Linked DNA regions of Homo sapiens: all the other regions are linked to region 4. The links are contacts of gene promoters, found by promoter capture Hi-C in human tissues and cell types (Jung and others, 2019). All regions are on one chromosome and are shown on one strand. Each heading gives the region's core, a stretch centred on a gene start or on the middle of the fragment in contact. The rest is flanking DNA. Distances are from core to core; before and after follow the strand shown.

Region 1 (2,700 bases), core at 146-2,645, 620 kb before region 4:
ACGGCTATTTGGCGCCCTGCGATCAGACAGGGCCTAACTCGGCAGTGGCAGGTGTCAGAGAAAGAATAACTTCTGTAAATCGTCCAGTTCTAACTGGACCCTGTTAAAACATTCAGCACACCTTTATCCACTTTAAAAACCTTACCCCACAAACATATGCAGCTTTAAAAGTTTTATGCCAGGCAGGGCGCAGTGGCTCACGCCCGTAATTACCAGCACTGTGGGAGGCGGAGGCAGGAGCATCACGATCTGAGGTCAGGAGTTCGAGACCAGCCTGGCCAACATAGTGAAACCCCCGTCCCTACTACAAATACAAAAATTAGCCGGGCGTGGTGGCGCACGCTTGTAATCCCAGCTACTTGGAGGCTGAGGCAGGCGAATCGCTTGAACCTGGGAGGCAGAGGCTGCAGTGAGCTGAGATTGCAGTGAGCTGAGACTGCACCATTGCACTCCAGCCTGGGCGACAAGAGCGAAACTCCGCCTCAAAAAAAAAAAATGCCATAAATATCCTGATTGTTTTCCAAAAGGATCCTTTGTCTGCTGAGGGAAATGTCTAAATATTCACATTTTATAATGAAACACGAGAACAGAAATGTGCACAACGCAAGCACTGCGTTTAACATATGTGCGAGTGTGTTTTCCTATGAGCCTGAGGACTGACAGGTGCAGAGAGGCTTTCAGTGGGGGTCAGCCTTCTCCTCCCCGTTCGAGTCTCTGACCGGGCTAGGGCTAAGAAGTGGGAGCCTGGCAGATAGGGCAGGCCCAGAAGAACAAACAGTCCCTGATGTTTTCCAGGAAACTGCCTCCCTGACAGTGCCCGCAAGTGGCCAGGAGGGAAACGCAACAGAGATCAAGAAAGGTGCAGGTAGGGGAGGGAGATAGCTCCCTAAGTGTTGTAGGGGCATGAAGTGGGTGAGGGTGACCGTGCTGCTCAGAGTACAGGGCCTTGAGGCCTTCCCTCTGCTTGAGGGTTTTTTGGGTTTTATTTTTGTTTTTGAGACAGGGTCTCATTCTGTCTCCCACGCTGGAATGCAGTGTCCCGATCTCAGCTCACTGCAACCTCTGCCTCCCAGGTTCAAGCGATCCTCCTGCTTCAGCATCCCGAGTAGCTAGGATTACAGGCGCACACCACCACTGCCTGGCTAACTTTTGTATTTTTAGTAGAGACAGGGTTTCACCATGTTCGTGAGGTCAGTCTCGAACTCCTGACCTCAGATGATCCGACCGCCTCGGCCTCCCAAAGTGCTGAGATTACAGGGTGAGCCACGCGCCCGGCCTACTTGAGGTTTTATTCTAGTTTTGCTTTGCTTGCCGGGAGCCCTGGTACAGGTCACCAGGCGTTAGTCCTCTTCACCGCCACTCCAGCCAATGGCATTTTTGAGAAATACAGAAGAGGGCTTGGGAGCTGGGGAATTGTCCTGCTTTGTCGGGCGAGGGCGCTGTTGAGCAAGAAGCGTTCCTTCCCTGCGCTGGGCAGCTCTCGTCGGTGGACTGCAGGGAACCCAGGGCGGTGCACAGTACCAGAGCACAGACTGGCGCTGGTCGCTCTGCGCAACCAGCTGGGCTCTGCAAAGAGCGGGCTCCGGGCTAGGGGTGAGGATTGGCGGGCTCTACAGCCCCCAGGGAACAACCACTCTTCCCACACCCACATCCGTGGACAGAACTACTTCAGCGTGACAGGCTACCTGCTGATCAGCGAGAAAGTTAACGTTTAACATTTCTCTGCAAGTAAATTTTTCTCACAAACGGCCTTATCAAAACAGAAAACAAAACCCAAAACCATCTGTCTTACTTAGGGAGCGTGCTATCGTATTTTTATTCCTGCAAGAAACTGATAGGCTCCACATCCATTTCATTTAAAAGAAAACTGGATAATTGTAAACATCTATATTCTCACACAAGCACCTTTAAATTTTATGTTTAAGAACTAAGTTTGAATGCAAAAGAAGGGATTTTACATTATTTAGATATATGTATAAATAATCGGGGACTAAAAATCATCTCTTGTTAATTGATTTATCTTTTATCTGCTTCCTTCTTTGAAGTAAATTAAAATTCCCAATATTCAGATTAATTTAATAAAGTCGTGTAAATATCAAAATACGGTGAAGGTCTGTTTTCCCACAATCAAGTTTTCTTACCATATTACAAATAACTGCACGTTAGTCCATATAACACGTGTTACGTAAATTCAATACATGGTCTTTCCCAGCCTAATTCTTCAGTGTTTTAAGAGTCATCAAAAAAAAAAAAATTAAGTAAAAGTCATCAATTTATATTTTAAAATGTAACAAAGGAAAGGTAAATTCTATGAAAGCAAGTCATTACATCAGTAAGTATAAAGCAACTGAGTTACCAATGCAGAGTAACAAAAGAATGGTGGAGGTCATTAATCTTGCCCACAAAGCCCTCTGCTTGAGTGTATTTGCTCAGACAACATGAGATACCCCAGGAGTGCTTGACGGGGCTGAAAGTGCTTCAGAAAGGGCCAGACGCGGGGTGGGGGCTTTTAACGGCAACTCTGGGCACCTCAGATGGGGCTCAGTCCTATTTGCTCTGTGGCACCGGCCCAACGCTAATGGTGCTCTAAGCTTTTCTCCAAGGCAAGCGATAGTGGCAGCCTCTCCCCTCCCCTCCCGACCTGTTGCTTTGCAGAAGAAACCGCAACAGGGAGGACATTCCTTATAATTCCCATGAAAC
Region 2 (2,724 bases), core at 162-2,661, 540 kb before region 4:
GATCTTGGCACCCAGTCATCTGCTAAATCCTGCCTGTCCATTTGGCTCATCGCCTGCCTTAGGGATTGGATGCCTGGGCTGGCTTTCTGCTTCCTGTGCCCTGCAAGACACTCTGTTGCTGGGAGTCAAAGATCTCTCACCACAGGGTGTCGCTGCTGAGCTAGGCTGCCTCGCATACAGGACCCTAGAACTATAAAGTTGTTCTTCAGAGATTTAATTTTTTTCTGTCTATATCAGTTTCACATAGTATAATTTTATAGTTTTCCATTATATTGGTGGCACTTTCTTTTGGGTCTGCAGAAATTATTTCAATGTCCCAGTTAATAATATTCATCTTTCATTCAACGTTTACTGTGTCCTAGGTACTATTATAGTATGGGATATGAAAGAACAAAATAAATATGCTAGTTATCTAAATAGTTTTACTGCGTACCAGCTGTGTTTACACAGTTTGGTGCCTTGACACTTGCTCTTTATGACGAATAGCGCAGAAGATTTATGTGCTTCTCCGTTACTGTGATATAACTGGAAAGAATAGTAGCAAGACCCAAAGAGAAAAAACACTCGCCTCAGCGACGGTCAGCCCTTGGCATTTGGGAAGGATGTGCTCGGAGACCTTCATCGACACCCAGACACCATGGTAGCGTGTGATTCCCACTATAAAACCCAGTCATGTGTGGCTCCATCAGTGTCACTGTGCACGATACCAAGAGGAAGCAGGGCTTGGCTGAGATGCAGGCTGTGGGCGGCTGAGCTGGGCTTCCTCCGACCAAGGCTTTCACGTTTAATTGAACCTCCCAGGAGCAGGATTGAAATTTGGGTCTCAGCAAAATGACAAAAAGTTAAACCATAAAACAAACACACAAACACACGTTTACCACACACCTATCTCCGTAGAAAGAAGACTGGGCCAGGTGCAGTGGCTCAAGCCTGTAATCCCAATGCCTTGGGAGGCTGAGGCAGGTGGATCGCTCAAGCCCAGGAATTCGAGACCAGCCTGGGCAACCTGGCAGAATTTCGTATTCTTTACAGAAGATACAAAAATTAGCCAGGCATGGTGGCGCATACCTGTAGTCCTAGCTACTCGGGAGGCTGAGGCAGGAGGATTGCCTGAGCCAGGGAGGTTGAGGCTGTAGTGAGCTATGATTGTGCCACTGCACTCCAGCCTGGGCAACAGAGTGAGACCCTGTCTCAAAAAAAAAAAAAAAAAAAGGAAACAAGACTGGAAGGAAATCTGGTATATATGGGACTTATTTGTGGTGGAGTGCTTAAGGGTGATTTTAATAATCTTTTAAAACTTTCTCTGTATTTTCCAAATTTTCTATAATGATTATATATATAATAAGCCAAATTAGTTATTAGTTATTTTATAATGAGCCAAATTGGTTATTTGTTATGAGTTATTTTATAATGAGCCAAATTAGTTATTAAAAACTAAAAACAAATGACTGCGTGTCATTGGACTTTGAAGGCATCTCACACATGGTCACACTTGAATGTTAAAAGGCAGGGAATCTCATAGGTGTTGATACTTTGGTTAATATTAATATTTGACATATTATTTAGAAAGGGTTCGCTCTGATAGTAAAACACGTGACTCTTGTTCATGGCCTGTGGCAGCTGTGACTTCCAGGGTTAACTGTGAGCTCTGAGTTGGTGTGTGGGGGCCTCCGAGCTGAAGCTGTCCCTTTGCTTCTGTGGGTGGAAGGTACCCCTGGGTGCCCTACCCCTGCTTGGATGTTCCAGTTTCTTGGCAGAGCCCTTTGAACTGTTTCTCCAAGACCATATATATGGGGACCTCTCCATGGCTTCCTCTCTGCAGATGTTGGTGGGTGAGAGACTGATACACCACATGGCTCACTGTGGGGTGTCCGGGGTGCGATCACCTGGTGGCCACCACATCTTCCCGCCACCAGTGGGTGACAGGCAGTCAGCAGCAATACATCTTTACTGTGCTGGGACATGAATGTTTTTGAGAAACACTGATTTTATAGAAGAAACATAATCCTTTCCCTTACAGAACACCAGAAAAAACATAATTCTTTTATATTTTATAGAAACATTTTAATAGATTTTATTTTCTATCGAATCTGATGTTCTAGAGAAAATGTAATTCTTTCCCAGTTGAGAAGCTAGCTGCCTTGTTTCTGTTTCTCTGGGTTCCATTTTCCTTTTTATCTCTGCCAGAGCAATGGCAGAAAGAAAGCACAGGCTGCCACGCTCTGCAGGGTCTCACTGGGAGGGGCAGCTGGCGGGTTAGGACCGGCTGGGACCTGAATCTGTGTGTGGGGCAGAGCCAGCCCCCCACCCTCCACCCCTGCAGAGTTGCCTGCCAGTGGACCCCTTTTGGTCCCCCCAGTGAGTCCAGAGGAAGCAGAAGAAGGTGGGATGTGCCACCCCTAGGAAGGTCGGCACCTTTACCTTGGGGAACTGGACGTGCTGCCCCCAGGAAGGTCGGCACCTTTACCTTGGGGAACTAGAGAGCTTGTGCATTGCTCCCGTAGCCTGGGACATCTGCTTAGGATCTGGGGAGCACAAGAATTTTTCCAAAATGAAAAAGCTTGGGAACCTTGTGGGTGTTCATCGTGGCCAACGGTGGCTAACAGTGTGTAGGTGACCTGAGAAACACAAGCCGGCTGGACTCTTAGCAGGGGTCCTGTGTCCAGCTGGGATCAAGATGTAGCTGTCACAAGAAGTGACAACTGGGTTTGTTACTGAAATGAT
Region 3 (2,700 bases), core at 1-2,500, 580 kb before region 4:
TTCCGGGTCCCCGCCTCCCCCGCCGTCCCCACCCCCGCGCCGCCTGGCCCGGGGGGGCGGCGCGGCCCTTCCGGCCGGGGCGGGGCCGGGCCTGGGGCGCTGGGGCGGGCGGGCAAGGCGGGCTCGCCCTGCCGGCGGCGCGGCCATGCTCATCACGCTGTGCTACCTGTACCTGTGGGCGCGCTGGGGTCGCCGGCCGGCTGAGCTCGTGCGCGCCACGGTGCGGCGGCTGCGTGCCTCGCGCTGTTCCTTCACCTTCTGCGGCGCGGCCGCGCAGCCCCCGGGCGCCCGCGTGTGCCTGAGCCGTGGCGGCCGCGTCTTCTGCGTCAGCGACAGCCAGGTGGGCGGGTCGGGCGGGCGGGCGACCCGGGCCCCGCGAGCCGGAAGTGCCCCCGTCCCTGCGCCTCGTCCCCGCCGGGAGCCCGGGAGTTCGGGAGCCCCGGAGTGGCGCCCTCAGTGCGGCCTGTGCGGCCCGGGAGGGGCTGTTGCCCCGGGGCCCAGAGAGAGGCCGGAGGTGCGGGACTCGGACCACGGACCCGGTCGCCTCTTCCCGGCCAGCCGGGCGGTGCTGGACGCGTGACTCTAGGCGCGCACCTGTGAGGACGTGAGCTGTGGATTGACAGCCGGACGCCAGCAGTGCCCACCTGGGGTCGCCCCCAACCTCCTCTCCCACACTTCGAGCCGGCGTTTGGGTGACCGTGAACCAGGAGAGACAGCTGTGGCGGGCCGGGAGCGGTGGCTTATGCCTGTAATCCCTGCACTCTGGGAGGCCTAGGAGGAAGGACAGCTTTGAGCCCAGGAGATGGAGACCAGCCTGGGCAACATAGCTAGACCCCTCTCTACAAAAAACAAAACAAAAAAAACACTTAGGTCGGCGTGGTGGCACGCGCCTGTAGTCCCAGCTACTCTGGAGGGTGAGGCGGGAGGGTCACTTGATCCCGGGAGGTTCACTTGAGCCCCGGAGTTTGAAGCTACAGTGAGCTATGATTGAGCCATTGCACTCCAGTCTGGGTGACAAAGCAAGACCCTGTCTTAAGAAAAAAAAAAAAAAATCCCAAACAAAAAACTCCCACCTGTGTCATCAGCTTTTTGTCAGATGTCCCCAAATTTACAAAAACTGCCCTTTTCCCTCTCCATCTTCTGTCAGTTGGTTGCATCATTCACCAACTTGGGCACCCGACTGATGGTCTTTGCGTCTTTTAAATTTCAGTTGACAGTCAGCCTTTGTTTTTTTTGACCCAGTGCTTAGGATGGTGGTTACGTGTTCAGCCCACTCTGTCACCTACCTTGTGACTTGGGCCAGTCAATTAATCTCTGTAAAAAGTCTGCTGCCTTGCTGTAAAGGGAACAATAGATCTTTCCATTCAGCTGTTTTTGGAAATGGGCTTAGCTTCACAGTGCAGTACTGCACAAAATTTCATGGACATCGGTAGCATTGTTCTCATTAATATTTAAACGTGTTTTGCTTTTAATCTGTTTCTTGTCCCTTTCCTCTGTTTTCTGGAATATTGCCTCACTTTTAGCACTAAAATGACGTTTTCTGCATATGTCACACCGTAAAGCCCCTGTGGGGAATTGAATCTTATCTCAGGTTTGAACATTGCCTGGAGGCTGTGCTTAGATATGGGTTGAAATTGTGCCACTAGCAAATAAAAAATACTCTTTCTTGTTAGTACCATATATGTATTATGTCACACTGAATATGAATGACTGTTTTCTCAGGTCCCCCAAGGTACTAGTTATGCAAATAACTAGTACCACCTCCACATAACTGACACTACCCAGACAAAAGGGGAAGAAGTTCATGCATTACATACAATGTATGGCTTAGAGCGTTGGGAATTAACCTGATTGAGAAAGATAACTCAATAAAATGGCAAAAAATTGAGGGGTGAGCTTTTTGTAGTAGTTTCCAAATTGGATCAATTACATTTAGGATTTAAGTCAGAATAGAAATTTTGGACATATAAAAACATGGAGATGGGAATGTCTGATTTTCTTGGACAGTTTTACTTTTGAACATTTTCATGACTCCGCTGGCCTTCTGTTAACTACACTAACCATAACTAGTGATTTTCAGCCCTTGCCTACCTGTGCAGGCCGGAGTAGGAGTGGCCTGGTGCTTTCATGGATTCTGTAACTCTGCTCTGTCACTCTGCACAGTAAGCTTTGCCTACAGATTTGGTTAGATATTGCTGCGTCATTTCCTAGTTTTCCAGACTAGATGGGATGGCCATGCTCTGCATCCCTGTAGCCTTTAAATCACAGTTCCTATTCTAGTTCGTATCTTTTTCTTATTAGGAAATGAGACTGTTTAGCATAGCAGCTTGACCTGAAATAGTAAATTTAATAGTTGTTGGGTTTAAGCTGTGATGTTGAAGGTCTACAGGTGGAAAGCTTGACCATTTATTTGTGGTTGGCTACTGTTATTTTGAGATTTAAAATATGATCAGGTTGATGATTTGGTGGATATCTCAGTCTGCTTGGGTCTACTTTTGAGGGATACCTCAGTCTACTTGGGCTGAAATAAGGACACACCTGAATCTCATGCCCATATGTTGAGATGGATCTCATTCTGTCACCCAGGCTGGAGTGCAGTGGCGCGATCTCCGCTCACTGCAATCTCCACCTCCCAGGTTCAAGTGATTCTCCTCCTTTGGCGTCCTGAGTAGCTGGGATTACAGGCATGAGCCACCACGC
Region 4 (2,700 bases), core at 81-2,580:
AAAAGAAAGCAGCTCTCTTTTGCTTTCATTGTTCACCGCAGGCCCTGGAAATTTAGCATTCTGGGCTAGATGACAAAGTAGTTTAGTTTGTTGACATACGTTAATTCATTCATTCATTTACTTAAGAGAAGGGTCTGGCTCTGTCACCCAGGCTGGAGTGCAGTGGAGTGATCGTTGCTTGCTTCAAACTCCTAGGCTCAAGCGATCCTCTCACTTCAACTTCCCAAGTAGCTGGGCCTACAGCTGCACACTGCCACGTCCCGCTACTTTTTCATGTCTGGCTGTTGCCCAGGCTGGTGTCGAACTCCTGGACTCAAGCGATCCTCTCACCTCAGCCTCCCAAAGCACTGGGATTACAGGCGTAAGCCACCGCGCCCAGCCGACACTGGTTTTAAGTAAAAGAATGAAAACTATTGCTTCAAGCAGTGTTCCCGGATGTCTATCTCTGCCCCAGTTTACCCTGACATTGGTGTCCACGCCGGCAGACGCCAGTCTGTGGATCCTCCCAGCCGTCCCATGCTGGAAGTCCAGGCTGTACACGGGCTCCTTGTTGTGCCAGGCTATTTCACAAGTGATGACTTTCATCCTCCTGAGTCTCGAAGGGGAAAAACGTTTCTCGGGCACCGTTCTACTTCTTCAAGACAGGAGAAAGCTGCAAAATGCTGGTGATGGATTAAACAACAGTGTTAACAGCAGCAAAGGGTTATTGAGCGCTGAATAGGGGCCAGGAGCCATTTAAAATGCACACTGCATTGGGAAAGGATGTTAACGTTGCCATCTGACAATAACACCTTGCTAGCTCCACCTAAAATGCTTCGCTGGGTCCTGACATCCACAAGTTTATGATACGCCGCTACATCCAGAAAAGCAAAACGAAACACCCAGGTAAAGGCTACCTAGGGGCCCCGGCCGTCTGCACGGCCTGTCCCCGCTTAGTAGGGGCTAGGGGCGCGCCCTGAGAGCCCGGGGAGGGGCCCGCCCCGGGAGGAGCCTCCCGGAAGAGGGGGCCAAACGGGGTAGGGGACCGGGGCGGCGGGGCGAGAGGAGAACCCCGCCTTTCCCAGGGACCGGGCGCTGGGCCCGGGAAGCTGGGACTGAGGCCGCCGGGAGGAGGCCGCGCGGGGCCGGGGGTGGACGGGGCCCCGCCGCCCCAACGCGCGCCGCTCCGGAGCTATCCCGGGGCCCAGGGGCCCGCCCTCGGCGAGGGCCTCTGGCCCGGACCGACGCGACCAAAAGAGCCGCGGAGCTGCCCGGGCCAGGGAAGCCGTACCTGGAGGGACCCGGACAGTCAGAGGCACCGTCACCTCCCGCGCAGCGCGCGCCGCTTCCCGCGCGCCGCAGGCCCCGCCCCCGCATGGGCGGGACCTCATAGACGCCCCGCCCCTCCAGCGGCCCTCAGGTCCCGCCCGACGTGGGCGGTACCCCAGGGAAGCCCCGCCCACTCATAGACGCCAAGGCGAGTCCTGCTCTGGCCCTGGGGTCGGAATCCCGGCCGGAATTTATGCCTGCCAGACCCACGACCGAAGGAAGAATGGATTCATTATTATTTATTATTATTATCCATTACTTATTCCTTGTTGATTCGCTCTTTTAGCAAAGGTTTACAGAGCCTGGGCTGTGTGTTAGACAGACCCTATGCTGGCGCTGGGCACTTGGAGGGCTAACACAACCGGTTCTCTTGCCCCTTCTGCAAACAAAAACTGAGATTTTTGGGTTTTCTGTATTGGCTTCTAGAACATTTTGGAGAGTTCAAAGCTATGAAATTGTTCAGTACCTAGCGCAAGGTTGCTTACATTTTATTATTATAGTAGATGCAGTTATAAACCCTTTTTAAGAACAGACTAACATTTTAAAGTGAGGCTGTAAATCAGTCGGTAGGCAGAGATAGATACCTCAGGCTTTTCGAAATGGGACGTTTCCAAATGAGACCTAATTTATCTGTGGGCTTCGCAGAAGGCCAGGAAACAAGTACCTCTGGATGCGCTGCTTTTACTGGATAAAAGAAACACACAGGGTTATCTGAGGAGCCAACTGCTCTAGGATTTTTGGAAAAAAAGAACAGACATGGATTCTTATATAAATACCGGCTGATGCTTTTAGCCAGCTTTATGAAAGGTACAGAAATTGCCTACAAATCCGTGTCTCATGTTGATGAGAATGGCTGTATGCTCCTTGAAGCCTGATTTCTACAGGAAGCTAGAATAACATAATCCGGATATGCAGTTTTTAGATTTTTCTCTTCAGGATTTACAGAGCTTGGACTGGGAATGACTATATACTTTAGATAATATGGCTGTTCTAAAAGTACAGATTCCTGGCCCTACTCAGCCCCATGATTCCGAATATCCAGCAGAGGCCCGTGCTCCAGGGGCTTGCATTTTCATAAACTCCCCGGTGGGTGTGATCATCAGTCTGTTTTGGAAAGCTCTGGATTCTTCGTGTCTCTCAAACATAAAATTTCTCCAAATTTCTCATAAATGCTGTTCATTCACAAATGAATAATCTGCCCACCTCTTGAAGTGTCACGACTCTGAACTGTGGATTTAAAAGATAAAAACACATGCTTTAAGTATTAAAAGTACATGAAGGAGTTGGCTTTCTTGGCGAACATTTTAGAGATCCGACTTCAGTGCCAACTTGATGAGCCAACACGGGCAGGGGATGCGGCTCTAGAGAGAGGCCCTGGGCTGTCAAATATTT
Region 5 (2,700 bases), core at 179-2,678, 560 kb before region 4:
GCTCCTGCTTGCAGTGACTTTGTGATAACTCTTACGCTGTTACTTGATTTTCCAATACCCTTAAAAGTGCCATAGGGTATATTGTCTTTTTTTTTTTTTTTTTTTTTTTTTTGAGACAGGGTCTCATTCTGTCATCCAGGCTGGAGTGCAGTGGCATGATCATGGCTCACTGCAGCCTTTACTTCCTGGGCTCAATCCATCCTCCCACCTAATCTTCCCAAGTAGCTGGGAATACAGGCGTGTGCCACCACACCCAGCTAGTCTTTTGTTTTTAGTAGAGATGGGGTTTCACCTTGTTGCCCAGGCTGGTCTTGAACTCCTGGGCTTAAGCGATCCTTCCTGCCTCGGCCTCCCCAAGTGCTGGGATTACAGGCATGAGCCACTGCATCTGGCCTGTCTTTTTACATAATATCAAGTGAAAGTCAATTTTGTAGCTCTCCTTTATCCTCTCTATTTCCAAACACAAAAGACAGCAAGGATAGCCAAAAGTTAAAAATAACTTTTTCCCTTTAGTCTTGTATTTTCAAATTCTTTTTTTTTTTTTTTTTTCTAGACGGAGTGTCGTTCTGTCGTCCAGGCTGGAGTGCAGTGGTGTGGTCTCGGCTCACCACAACCTCTGCCTACTGGGTTCCAGTGATTCTCCTGCCTCAGCATCCCGAGTAGCTGGGACTACAGGTGCACGCTACCATGCCCGGCTAATTTTTGTATTTTTAGTAGAGGCGGGGGTTTCACCATGCCATCCAGGCTGGTTTCGAACTCCTGACCTCGTGATCCACCTGTCTCGGCCTCCCAAAGTGCTGGGATTACAGGTGTGAGCCACCGCGCCTGGCCCTGTATTTTCAAATTCTTTACCTCTGCGTTTCCAGCCTTGCTCCATCCAATTTGTTACTAGAGCTTTTTAACAATTTCACGTTGAATTAAGATGATTTGGAAGAGGAGAAACAAGAGTCAGAAAAATTAGCAGCATCCGTGATCTGACTCTGGGTACCAGTGGGTTGTTGAGATTTCTGTTCCCCACTCACTGCAGAGCTGCTGCCTGCCAATGCCCCCTGTTGGGCAGGGCCACCTGTGCTAGTTTAACCTGGGGTCTTTCACTCCCGGACTGCTTCTTGGATGTGAGTTTTAAGTTGAGCAGAGAAGATATGCCTTGCCTGCTGCCATACATTGTAACATCAAGTCAAGAGCTTTAGTTACTTAACAGATTTCTGCTGGCTGCTATTATAGGAGGAAACTCCTTTGTTTAGGGACAGCCAGGGCTTCCTTAGCTTTGATCTTTGGGAGTGAGCCTTTTGCTTGACTTCCCTTCTCTTTTCCATGCCTTTGTTTCCATCTCGAAGTGCAAATTTAAAGTGTCCTGTTTGCCTTTATCCACTGGAAGGCAAACACCCTGGACGACGTATCAGTGACAGCGCGGTTCTGCTTTGATCGGAGCACCCAGCGCTGCTTGAAGGCGTTTGCATGGTCCATGGCTCATGGACCACGCTCCTAGAAAACGGAAATGCACTTAGGTGAGGAAACAGTTGGCAGAGTGGAGAAACTTGATCCGGGATGTGTGGATGTATTCTTTGGGCTCTTCCGGTCCTTCCTCTTCCTTTGTTTATCTCCTGCCTCATTCCTCTTCAGAGGTGTGTGGGAATTTCATCATTGGCTCCTTTTACACTGCCAGTGCCTGCTACCGCAGGGGGCTAAATCAATGTTTTTACAGCTAAATTCCGGGTTGAGTCTCCATTGGCTGAGCGGTTCTCCTCCTCCTTTGATTGCTCTGAGGACAATGGTGCCTTTAGCTTCCCGCGGGAGGTTGCCCTGTTCGTTTCCCTGTTTCCCACGCACCTTCATCCCAGAAGTCTGCCCTGCCACGGTGTTAGTTTATCTTCTCATCTTCCTGAACTGACGTCCTTTCCCCCATTCCCAAAGCTGAAATCAACGAACTCTCTGTCCTGAATCAAAGATGTCATTTCTGAAATGTAGAACTCTGCTGAAACATTGGGTGGGCCTGACCCTCTAGGTGAATTCTGCTTCCCTTGGCTGTGTGTCTGCGAGGAGGTGGGAGAAGTAGGTGGTAAAGTGGAAGGAAAGATACAAGTAGAGCTAAATGAAAATTCTGGAGTTTCTCTTTGTCCAAATATTCTACACAGGTTAGTGAGTTGGCCATAAAGGCCTGCGTTTATTCTTTTCCCCTCAAACGCAATGTTTCTCAAGTTTTTTTTTTTCATGATTGTTTTTCCGAGGAGAATAATTAAATTCACGTTCACTCTGAGAAGAGAAATGAGCTACTAAGGAATAAGATTTTGTTGTGGGGGGCCGGACATGGTGGCTCACACCTGTAATCCCAGCACTTTGGGAGGTTGAGGCAGGAGGGTCGCTTGAGCTCAGGAGTTTGAGACCAGCTTGGGCAACATAGCGAATTCTCGTCTCTACAAAAAATACAAAAATTAGCCCGTCATAGTGGTGCATGCCTGTCGTCCCAGCTACTCGGGAGGCTGAGTTGGGAGGATTGCTGGAGCCCAGGAAGTCGAGGCTGCAATGAGCCATGACTGCACCACTCCAGCCTGGGTGATAAAGTAAGACCCTGTCTCAAAAAAAATAAAAATAAAAAATAAAAAAGTTGAGGGATAGGATTGAGCCTTGGAGGGCCACAAACTGTTGTAATGTCTAAGATTTTTTTCACCTCCCCATTCCCTGCCAGGTTCGGTTTTTGCC

What was found. Contacts are between HindIII fragments. The study calls those that stand out against the background at their distance.
Region 1: a contact is called between a fragment that was not itself captured here and the fragment with the promoter of CHAF1B in region 4, in 1 of the 25 tissues and cell types used here (dorsolateral prefrontal cortex).
Region 2: a contact is called between a fragment that was not itself captured here and the fragment with the promoter of CHAF1B in region 4, in 2 of the 25 tissues and cell types used here (dorsolateral prefrontal cortex and hippocampus).
Region 3: a contact is called between a fragment that was not itself captured here and the fragment with the promoter of CHAF1B in region 4, in 2 of the 25 tissues and cell types used here (dorsolateral prefrontal cortex and mesenchymal stem cells).
Region 5: a fragment that was not itself captured here is called in contact with the fragment with the promoter of CHAF1B in region 4 in 1 of the 25 tissues and cell types used here (dorsolateral prefrontal cortex).

What each region holds. Positions count from the first base shown.
Region 1 is chr21:37,008,789-37,011,488 of GRCh38, reverse strand. The region is part of intron 2 of RIPPLY3 (ripply transcriptional repressor 3); the gene reads right to left. Among named protein-coding and RNA genes, the nearest start is that of RIPPLY3, 3.4 kb to the right of the region's middle. RefSeq lists an enhancer at 1,336-1,395. The HindIII fragment of the contact is 3,348 bases long and covers 1-2,700 here.
Region 2 is chr21:36,925,230-36,927,953 of GRCh38, reverse strand. The region is part of intron 5 of HLCS (holocarboxylase synthetase); the gene reads left to right. Among named protein-coding and RNA genes, the nearest start is that of HLCS-AS1, 40 kb to the left of the region's middle. RefSeq lists a silencer at 9-201. The HindIII fragment of the contact is 5,011 bases long and covers 1-2,724 here.
Region 3 is chr21:36,964,084-36,966,783 of GRCh38, reverse strand. It overlaps HLCS (holocarboxylase synthetase), which reads left to right and starts at 115. Exons shown (of 11, transcript NM_001352514.2): 1 at 115-340. The coding sequence starts at 146. It overlaps HLCS-AS1 (HLCS antisense RNA 1), which reads right to left and starts at 325. Exons shown (of 4, transcript NR_186434.1): 1 at 173-325. RefSeq lists silencers at 1-202, 273-602, 323-653 and an enhancer at 713-762. The HindIII fragment of the contact is 4,971 bases long and covers 1-2,700 here.
Region 4 is chr21:36,384,022-36,386,721 of GRCh38, reverse strand. CHAF1B (chromatin assembly factor 1 subunit B) reads right to left here and starts at 1,330. Exons shown (of 14, transcript NM_005441.3): 1 at 1,271-1,330; 2 at 460-662. The coding sequence starts at 585. RefSeq lists enhancers at 1-377, 378-879 and silencers at 999-1,098, 1,129-1,498. The HindIII fragment of the contact is 18,705 bases long and covers 1-2,700 here.
Region 5 is chr21:36,946,141-36,948,840 of GRCh38, reverse strand. All of the region lies in intron 2 of HLCS (holocarboxylase synthetase), which reads left to right. Among named protein-coding and RNA genes, the nearest start is that of HLCS-AS1, 19 kb to the left of the region's middle. RefSeq lists an enhancer at 1,414-1,967. The HindIII fragment of the contact is 5,400 bases long and covers 1-2,700 here.